Linked DNA regions of Homo sapiens: region 1 is linked to region 2. Evidence: promoter capture Hi-C in human tissues and cell types (Jung and others, 2019). All regions are on one chromosome and are shown on one strand. The core of a region is centred on a gene start or on the middle of the fragment in contact, and the rest is flanking DNA. Distances in the headings are between cores, read along the strand shown.

What was found. The method cuts DNA at HindIII sites, captures the fragments that hold promoters and counts their contacts. A contact is called where the count stands out against the background at its distance.
Region 1: a fragment that was not itself captured here is called in contact with the fragment with the promoter of SIGLEC11 in region 2 in 1 of the 25 tissues and cell types used here (dorsolateral prefrontal cortex).

Annotation. Positions count from the first base shown.
Region 1 is chr19:50,006,468-50,011,044 of GRCh38, forward strand. It overlaps VRK3 (VRK serine/threonine kinase 3), which reads right to left. Exons shown (of 15, transcript NM_016440.4): 4 at 2,769-2,918; 5 at 1,102-1,359. Among named protein-coding and RNA genes, the nearest start is that of VRK3, 17 kb to the right of the region's middle. The HindIII fragment of the contact is 3,791 bases long and covers 1-3,490 here.
Region 2 is chr19:49,958,250-49,963,029 of GRCh38, forward strand. SIGLEC11 (sialic acid binding Ig like lectin 11) reads right to left here and starts at 2,923. Exons shown (of 11, transcript NM_052884.3): 1 at 2,757-2,923; 2 at 2,303-2,686; 3 at 1,888-2,172; 4 at 1,524-1,571; 5 at 1,111-1,374; 6 at 781-828; 7 at 394-651; 8 at 34-321. The coding sequence starts at 2,832. The HindIII fragment of the contact is 12,874 bases long and covers 1-4,780 here.

The sequences.
Region 1 (4,577 bases), core at 345-2,844, 47 kb after region 2:
CGGGTTCACGCCATTCTCCTGCCTCAGCCTCCCAAGTAGCTGGGACTACAGGTGCCAGCCACCACACCCGGCTAATTTTTTGTATTTTTAGTAGAGACAGGGTTTCACCGCGTTAGCCAGGATGGTCTCGATCTCCTGACCTCGTGATCCGCCTGTCTCGGCCTCCCAAAGTGCTGGGATTACAGGCGTGAGCCACCGCGCCTGGCCAATAAAAGAATAACTTTTATGTGAGTTTTATCTCAATTAAAAAGTTCCAAAAAGAAAAGAAAGGAAAAGAAAAACCCATGTAAAGTGCTTAGAACAGGCCTGGCCTTGCAGAAGCACTCAATATTTATTACAGTTAATACTAATACTACTGCCATAATTATTTTCCTCATTGTAACAGAGTCTGAGCTTTTCAGCCTTGTGCCTCCCTCCTCCCCTTCCATCCCACACCTGGGTGAGCGGATGAGCAAGCTTGGGTGCTCCCTCCTTTGGGGTGTGCATCCACGAGACTCAAACCATGCATGGTGTTGGCCCCTGTGCAGAAACCCTGAGCCCAGCCCCACCCCCAAGCACGATGAAACACCTGACCAGTCTCCTTTCCTCACTCTCAAGGCATCTCAGATCTGTGTGGGAGGCCTGCCTGCTCTCCACAGAGACCCCTATTATGTAAGCAATAAACCTCTCACATCCTCTTGGTGTGTGTGTGACATCATCAGTCTCGATGTTTGAACCAAATTTTACGTGGGGATCCATCCTCTCTCTGCACACTGGCCAGAACAACCATCCTTAACATGCAGCCCCTGGGCCTGCACTCCCACGTGACAATAGCAGGTAGCAGGTGGGGTGAGGAGGGGCACACTTCACACAGGGCACATGCCAACTGGCCGCAGTCCCCGCCACTCCCAACTGCCTTACTCCAGCCTGCTGCACTCATTCCCACTATTGCCCGGCCCTGCAGGTGGGTAGGTATAGAGTCCAAGGTCTAAGAGAAAGTTGCCTAGCGACAGGTCTGCAGCTAGGGATGTGGCTTCCATTCCCATTCTCAGAACGGGGTCCCCTCCCACTGTCCTGGTGCTGAGACGACCCAGTCCCTGGCCGCCCATGGACAGAGTGTACCTTCATAGAGAATGCCCTGGTTGTCCCTGGTCTGGAAGGACTTCAGCTTCCACTGTCGCCCACTCTTGTCTGTCAGCACTGTCCCTGTGGGCAAAGCTTCAAGTGAGGTGGTCACTCGGCTCCGCTTCAGCGTCTGAGGGCTCTGCCTGGTCTTCTGAGGGCTACAGCTGGTCTTCTGAGGGCTACCCCTGGTCACCTGAGGGCTCTTCCTGGTCTTCTGAGGGCTGCTTTTGGGGGTTGGGGGTCTGCTCCCGGAGCCTGCAGGAGGATGTAAGAATAAAGTAAAAGCACCATCCAGGAGAGAAAAGTTAGATGGGGAGTGAAACAGCACGCAAAATACTGTTCCTTTACAAATTCGTTCATTCAACAAACATTTCCTGGGACCTTCTATGAGTCAGGCCTTTGTGTGATGATGTTGGGGCACCAGATAGGAGTCGGACCTGCATCCTTCCCTCAGGAGTGCCCAGTTTGGTGGGCAAGTCTGCTCTAGACACAGCTAGTCAGATGCGGGTCTGAGACAGGGCAGTACAGACAGATATTAGGGCCCAAAAGAGAAAGAGATCCTGCCTGGAGAAGTCAGGGTAGGCTTCCTGGAGGAAGGGATGTTAGAGTTGGATCTTGTTGGATGAGGAGAAGTTTGCCAGGGAATAAAGGACATTCTAGACATTTACCCAAAAACATCCTGAAAAAGGACTCAGTCCTGAGATAGAAAAGGGCCAAAAAATTTGTTAGACCAAAGCCCTGCCCTAGAAGGGCTCCTAGCCTGGCAAGAGAATGGGGTGGGTGTGGTGGGAGACAGACTTGGACACAGGAAAAGACATCGCTTACTCTGTTCCTCCCACCCACCATCCCCTAAAGGCAAGTAATGGCAAGAGGCCTCTGGGCCCAGAGGATAATGAGGAGCAAAGGGGACGCCTCACACTGCCACTGTGGCTGTGGCTTCAGATCCAGGGGCTCAGTGAACAGGAGAAGGAACATAGTCCTCAGGCCTCCCGTGTCCTGGGCACTGGCTGGGCAGAGGGTATATACACTAATTGTGCTGGGTCCCTACCTGCAAAGGGCCCCCAGCCCAGAAAGTGAGGCCGAAAGGGATGTGGAGCCTAGACTGACATGCGCTCCAATGAAGGCTGCAGCAGGCACGGGGGGGCGCCAAAGAGGCTGGAAAGAGGCTCTGGCGGACGATGAGGAGGTCTGGATGCGAGCCTATGGCACTCAAGAGAAGCTTCCTAGAGACCAGTATCGGCTGAGTGGCAGTACACAAGGCCAAGAACGAAGGTGAGAGTGCCCTGGGCTGAGGGAACAGGCTTAGCAAAGACCAAGGTTAATCCCCAAAAGTGTTTTCTGGGCAAAGACTGTGTTGAGGGCTAAAGCAGGAACCAGGCCACACAGATACCAGACTGAAGAGCTTGGTCTGAGGGCACCAGGAACAGTAGGGGTCTGTGTGCAGGGAGGGGCCGGGGCAGCTCTAGGTGCTGAAAGACCCATCTGGGGCCATATAGAGGCAGACTGGAGGGGGAGATGGGAGGCTGGGGAAGCTGCTGGAGTCAGAGTCCAGGCAGGGATGGATGATGTTTGAGCCGGGGCTGTGGCAGTTTTGTCCCAAAGATCATCAGATGACCTAACTTTGCTCCACTTAAGAGTCAGGCCAGATAGACCTTAACTCTTACCTTTGGATCTCTCAGAGGAACTCAGAGTATCTTCAGACTCAGAACTGTCACCATCTGAGAAGAGGGATAATCGGGGAGAGGTGACGGTGCTGGACCATTTCACTTTCTTAGGAGAGGTTTCAAAACTGGAGTTCAGCCCTCTCTTTGAGCCTAAAGAAAGGCAGACAAAATGCAGACTGGAGTTACAAAGGCCCCTCTGCAGGCACCATTGGACTGGGAGCCCTGAGGTTATACTCAGCTATGCTGTTCTCTTTGGCCCTCAACACCAATTCTTGCTTCTTCTATTATGTAAATATATGAGCAAACTGTTCCTTTTAGTTGTTCTCTCCTTCTTAGGTCTTTGCCTCTCTTGTATCTTCCAGCACTTTGCCACTCTGTGTCCTTTCCACATAATGTCTTTATATGTATGTATATTTGAGATGGAGTCTCACTCTGTTGCCCAGGCTGGAGTGCAGTGGTGCAATCTTGGCTCACTGCAACCTCTGCCTCCTGGGTTCAAGCAATTCTCCTGCCTCAGCCTCCCAAGTAGCTAGGATTACAGGCATGCACCAACATGCCTGTAATGTTGCTAATTTTTATAGTTTTAGTAGAGATGGGGTTTCACCATGTTGGCCAGACTGGTTTTGAACTCCTGACCTCAAGTGATCGGCCAGCCTCAGCCTTCCAAAGTGCTGGGATTACAGGCATGAGCCACCATGCCTGGCCTCTTCCATGTAATTTCTTAAAATCTATCTTCCAGTTAACTAATTCTCCCAGCTATGTCTAGTCTGCTGTTTAAACCACCCACCGAGTTTCTGATTACAATAATTATTTTATATATATATACACACACACACACATATACACACATACAATGATTGTGTGTATATATATACACACATACACATATATACATATATAGACACACACATATACATATACACACATACAATCATTAGAGTTTTTATTTGGTTCCTTCTCTTATTTGCCTGTGCAACTTTAACCTATTCCTTCATTATACTTTCAATTTGTTATTTTATTTATTTAAATGTATTAAGCATGCTTTGTAAACATTCTCATCTATTAATTCTAAAGTCTGTGGTCTTGGCAGGTCCGATTCTGCAGTTTGTTGTTTCTGCTGACTCTCCAGCTAGCTTATTTCCTGGTGTCTTTGTAAATCAACAGAGACTGGTACTCATGATCCTTGGATGTTGACCTGTGGTAATTCCCTGATGTTTGTCTTTAAAGGATGTTTTCCAAGAGAAGATTTGTTTATATCAGGCAGGGAGTGGTACCCACATCTCACCACTTTAAGTTAAATGTTCAGCTTGCATTTTGGGGGACCACACAGATCAGTGTGAATTCTGGCCCCAAACTGGTGAGAACGTGAATTCTTGGTTAGGAACTCTCCAAGAAGGCTGGGCGTGGTGGCTCATGCCTGTAATCCCAGCACTTTGGGAGGCCAGGGCGGGTGGATCGCCTGAGGTCAGGAGTTTGAGGCCAGCCTGTCCAACATGGTGAAACCCCGTCCCTACTAAAAATATAAGAATTAGCTGGGTGTGGTGGCAGGTGCCTGTAAACCCAGCTACTTGAGAAGCTGAGGCAGGAGAATCGCTTGAACACGGGAGGTGGAGGTTGCAGTGAGCCAAGATTACACCACTGCACTCTAGCCTGGATGACAGAGTGAGACTGTGTCTCAAAACAAAAACAAAAACAAAAAACAAAAAACAAAAACAAAAAAGGGAATTCTCAAAGAAGACATTCCTCCTTTATTTACCCACCACCAAGGCGACAAATGTCTCCACCAATTTTCTGTGGAACAATTGCTTT
Region 2 (4,780 bases), core at 1,673-4,172:
TCCCTGAACCTCAGCCCCCCACAGTCCCCTCACCTGGTAGCAGCTGGAAGACAGAGCCACTCTGGGCCCCGTGGACGTTCCAGGCCTTACAGCGGAGCCTGAGGCCGGAGCTGAGCCCTCCATGGAGGCTCAGGGAGCTGTTGGCCCAGGGCCCGGCTGAGCTGGGGGTGACCTCGAAGGAGCCCTGACTGCTGTTCCCCTCCAGCAGCTCCTCCCCAAGCCACCAGCGCAGAGAGGGGGCCGGGCTGGCCTGGGAGGAGCAGCTGCAGTGCAGACCCTCAGCCTCCCAGGAGCAGGAGGGGCCCAGCAGCTGTGGAGGGTCTGTGGGGAGGGAGGACAGGACTCAGCAGGGGCCCCTTCCTGGGACCCAGGTGTCCCCTTTCCCCCACTCACAGTGCACGGAGAGGCTGAGAGAGACGTGCTGGGAGCCCAGAGGGTGCTGAGCGTGGCAGGTGAACTCTCCTTCGTGCTCCATTTGAATGGGTGGCAGCTCCAGGACCCCGGGGTCTGAGGGCTGGGAGGGGCCCACGGTCTGTCCCCACCGGGTCCAGCTCAGCCTGGCTGGGGGGCTGCTGTGGGTGACACAGACCAGGCGCAGGCTTTGGCCCTCCAGGACCGGGAGGGATGTGCCGTTCCCGAGGTTTTCCAGGACTAGGGAAGGAAGAGGCAGAATCGACGTGCAGCTCAGGGCTCAGGGACCCTCCTGTGTGGGGACCCTCCAGACTCCTGGGCCCCCAGTTTGGCACTGAGAGGCCCTGGCTCCTCTGTCTCCTTTCCTACCTGTCCTGTTTGCTTGGGAAACCATCACTCTCAGGTTCTCTGGAGGATCTGAAATGGAGACAGGGGACCGGCTCTAGACAGACCAGGGGCTTCCCTCTGGGTAAAGGGAACTATCCTGGACACTGAGGTGGGGGAAGTGGGTGGGATAGAAGGGCAGGGCAGAATCACCCACTGAGTCCCAGACACAAACTGCATGAGGGTCTACACAGGTAAGAAGGTCAGTCCCCGAGGCCTGGGGTTCAAGACCCCCTCAGCTCTGGGACCCTGAGCCCAGCCCCTGTATCCCTCTGCCCTCCCAATGGACTCCAGGCCCCTGCTAGGCACACTCACACTGCACAGAGAGGTCCAGGGCTTGCTGCTGGGAGCCAAGCCTGTTCTCCGCTCGGCAGGTGTAGCGCCCTGAATCCCCGGCCCTTACCCCACGCAGCTCCAGCCCCAGGGTTCTGGGGCCCCAGGGGTGGGACGAGGAGAGGACTCTGTCCTGCAGGACCCAGCTCAGCGTGGCAGGGGGCTGGCTGTCAGCAGCACAGAGGAGCCGCAGGAACTGGCCTTTCTGAACTTCCAGATATATGACGTTTCCCTGGAGTTCCAGGGCTGAAGACAGGGAAAGAGAGAGGGTGGGGGTGGAGAGAGAGAATGGGTGGGAGGGGGGGCTGCAAAGAGGACCACATCCCCTCACCCCCCTGAAGCCTTTTCATCCCTAAAGAGGACTGGCCCAGCCCCAGCCCGAAGGCCCTCAGTACCTGACGTGTTGTCATGTGAAATGCTGATAATAAGGTCTTTGGGGGCATCTGCAACAAGATTGTGAGCTGGCTTCAGGGAGGGACAATTTGTTCCTCACACCTGGAAAAAACTCCCTCAGGGAAAAGAAAGTGGGAACATCCCAGGATGGACAAGTGACAACCAGCTCCAGGGCTCACACATGTGGACAGAGGATCAGACGCCATTCCCATCCCCCTCCCAGGGCTGAGCCGGCATCCTGGGACCCCACAGCTTCCTCTCCCTGGATGCTCCTGAGCTGGGAGCCACTCACTGTCCCGCTGGGCTCCTCCACCTCCCCACCCACCGGGGCTGTCTGCACGCCCCACCCTCCCAGGCCACACTCACAGGCCACACGGAGTCGGACGGTCCTCTGTGCGCTCACACCCTTTCTGGAGAAGTCCACATGGCAGGTGAGGTCGGTGTCGTGGTCCTGGGGGCTGGGCGTGAAGCTGAGCACTGAGAAGTGGGAGGTGCTTGGTCTGGTTCTTCTAGGGGAGAGGGCAGCCCCCGTCCAGGAGAAAGAAGGGGCTGGACATTTCTTGAAAGCCCAGTTAAACACACAGATGACCGTCACCGGCTGCCCGGGCTCCAGGGTCTCGGGGATGTAGACATCAGGCTTCTTAGTCAGGGCTGGGACAGAGACCGGGTGGGAGATTCTTGTGCTGCAGGGGTCCCTGAGAGCCCTCTCTGCTCAGCCCATAGCCTGTCCCCAGGGTCCCTCCCCAGTGTGACAGGCAGGGGTTCCCACCCCATTCCATACCTGTTACTTTTAGAAAGAACGCATTGCTCAGGAAACTATGTCTCACACGGCTTCCTCTCTCCACCCGAAAGAAGTACCATGCCTCATCCTCCCTCTGCGCGTCTCTGATCACCAAGGAGCAGCTCCCTTTGCCGGGATCCCCAGTGAGCTGGAATCGGTCCCGGGTGCTCATTTCCACCTCTCGACTCTGGTTGTTAGTGGCCACAGGAGCACCCGTCTTTGGGCTGGTCCGTCCTTTGAACCAGTAGCCATAAGCAGCAGTAGACTCGTCCCAGCCATCCCGGGGGTAGGAGAGGTTGCAAGACACGATGACACACAGGCCCTCCGGCACCGGCACCTGCCTCTGCACTTGAAGACTGTAACTGGGATCCTTGTTCAGGGACCCTGGGGAGATGCAGAGGCTCAGCGGCAGCCCCAGCCCCTGCCTGGGACCCCCAGCCACCGACCCACTCACCCGCCCCCAGCACGGGCAGCAGCAGGGGCAGCAGCAGCATCTCTGGGCTCTGGGGCTGGGCCTGTCCCGGGACCATCTGGCTTCTGGGCCGGCCTGGCTGGGAAGGAAACTCCTCCAGCAGGAAGCCTGGTGGAGGGGCAGTGACCATCCACAGAGGAGGAGCCTCGGGAACCGCTATGTCCTGAAAGCTCGCTTCCCAACTTCTCCTTTCACAGGGGAAGCAGCAGGGCAGAGGGCATGAGGACCAGCCCCAAACCAGGAAGGAGCCACCCTGGCCAGCCTCGGAGGTGGGCAGTGCTAGGAGGGGACTGTCAGGGGACACAGGTGAGTCACGGCTGCAGGTGAGGTGATGGATGCAGAGTCTCATTCATTCATTCATTCTCCAGGGGGCCATGAGACACTGGAAGAGTCTACAAGAACACAGTGATTTATGGTGGGGGCTTTGCACCACGTATTATTGCTGTATCTCCACAGAGGGTAAAAACTAGGTCAGCCACACAGGCAGTCAGCTGCATCTACGTGACCAACCCCCAGTAAAAACTCTGAATGCCGAGGCTCAGGTGAGCTTCCCTGGGTGGCAATACTTGCTGTATGTTGTCACTCATCTTTGCTTCAAGCATTAAGCGCTTTCTGTATGACTTCACTGGGAAAGGACAACTGGAATCCCACATATGGTCTCTTCTGGATCCTGTCCTATGAACCTTTCTCCTTTGTTGATTTTTATTTATTTATTTTTATTTTATTATTATTATTTTTTTGAGATGGAGTCTCGCTCTGTTCCCCAGGCTACAGTGCAGTGGTGGGATCTCAGCTCACTGCAAGCTCCACCTCCCGGGTTCACACCATTCTCCTGCCTCAGCCTCCTGAGTAGCTGGGACTACAGGCGTCCACCCCAACGCCCGGCTAATTTTTTTCTTGTATTTTTAGTAGAGACAGGGTTTTAGCGTGTTAGCCAGGATGGTCTCGATCTCCTGACCTTGTGATCCGCCCACCTTGGCCTCCCAAAGTGCTGGGATTACAGGCATAAGCCACTGCGCCTGGCCATTTTATTTTTATTTTTGAGACAGTCTCACTCTGTCACCCAGGCTGGAGGGCAGTGGTGCAATCTTGGCTCACTGCAACCTCCGCCTCCCAAGGTCAAGTGATTCTGCTGCCTCAGCCTCCCGAGTAGCTGGGACTACAGGCACCCACCCACCACCATGCCCGGATAATTTTTTGTATTTTTAGTAGAGATGGGGTTTCATCATGTTGAGCAGCCTAGTCTCGAACTCCTGACCTCAGGTGATCTGCCTGCCTCAGCCTCCCAAAATGCTGGCATTGTAGGCGTGAGCCACTGTGTCTGGCTTGTTGATTTTTTTTTTTTTAGATGAAGTTTTGCTCTTGTTGCCCAGGCTGGAGCACAATGGCATGATCTCGGCTCACTAAAACCTCCACCTCTCAGGTTCAAGCGATTCTCCTGCCTCAGCCCCCTGAGTAGCTGGGATTACTGGTGCCCACCACCATGCCCAGCTAATTTTTTGTATATTTAGTAGAGATGGGGTTTCACCATGTTGACTAGGCTGATCTTGAACTTCTGACCTCAGGTGATCCACCTGCCTCGGAGTCCCAACATCCTGGGATTACAGGCGTGAGCCACTGCGCCCAGCCCTGCCTTGTTGATTTTTAAAAAGTATTTTTATTAATATGTGATATTTGTACATATTTATGGGGTATATGTGATATTTTGTGCCATGCATAGAATATGGTATAATCAAGTCAGGGTATTTGAATATCTGTCACCTCAAACATTTATTATTTCTATTGTTGGGAACATTTCAAATCATCTTTTCTAGTTATTTTGAAAAATACAATACGTTATTATTATTTTTTAAGACAGGGTCACTCAGGCTGGGCACTGTGGCTCACGCCTGTAATCCCAGCACTTTGGGAGGCCAAGGCGGGTGGATCACAAGGTCAGGAGATCAAGACCATCCTGGCTAACACGGTGAAACCCCATCTCTATTAAAAATACAAAAAATTAGCTG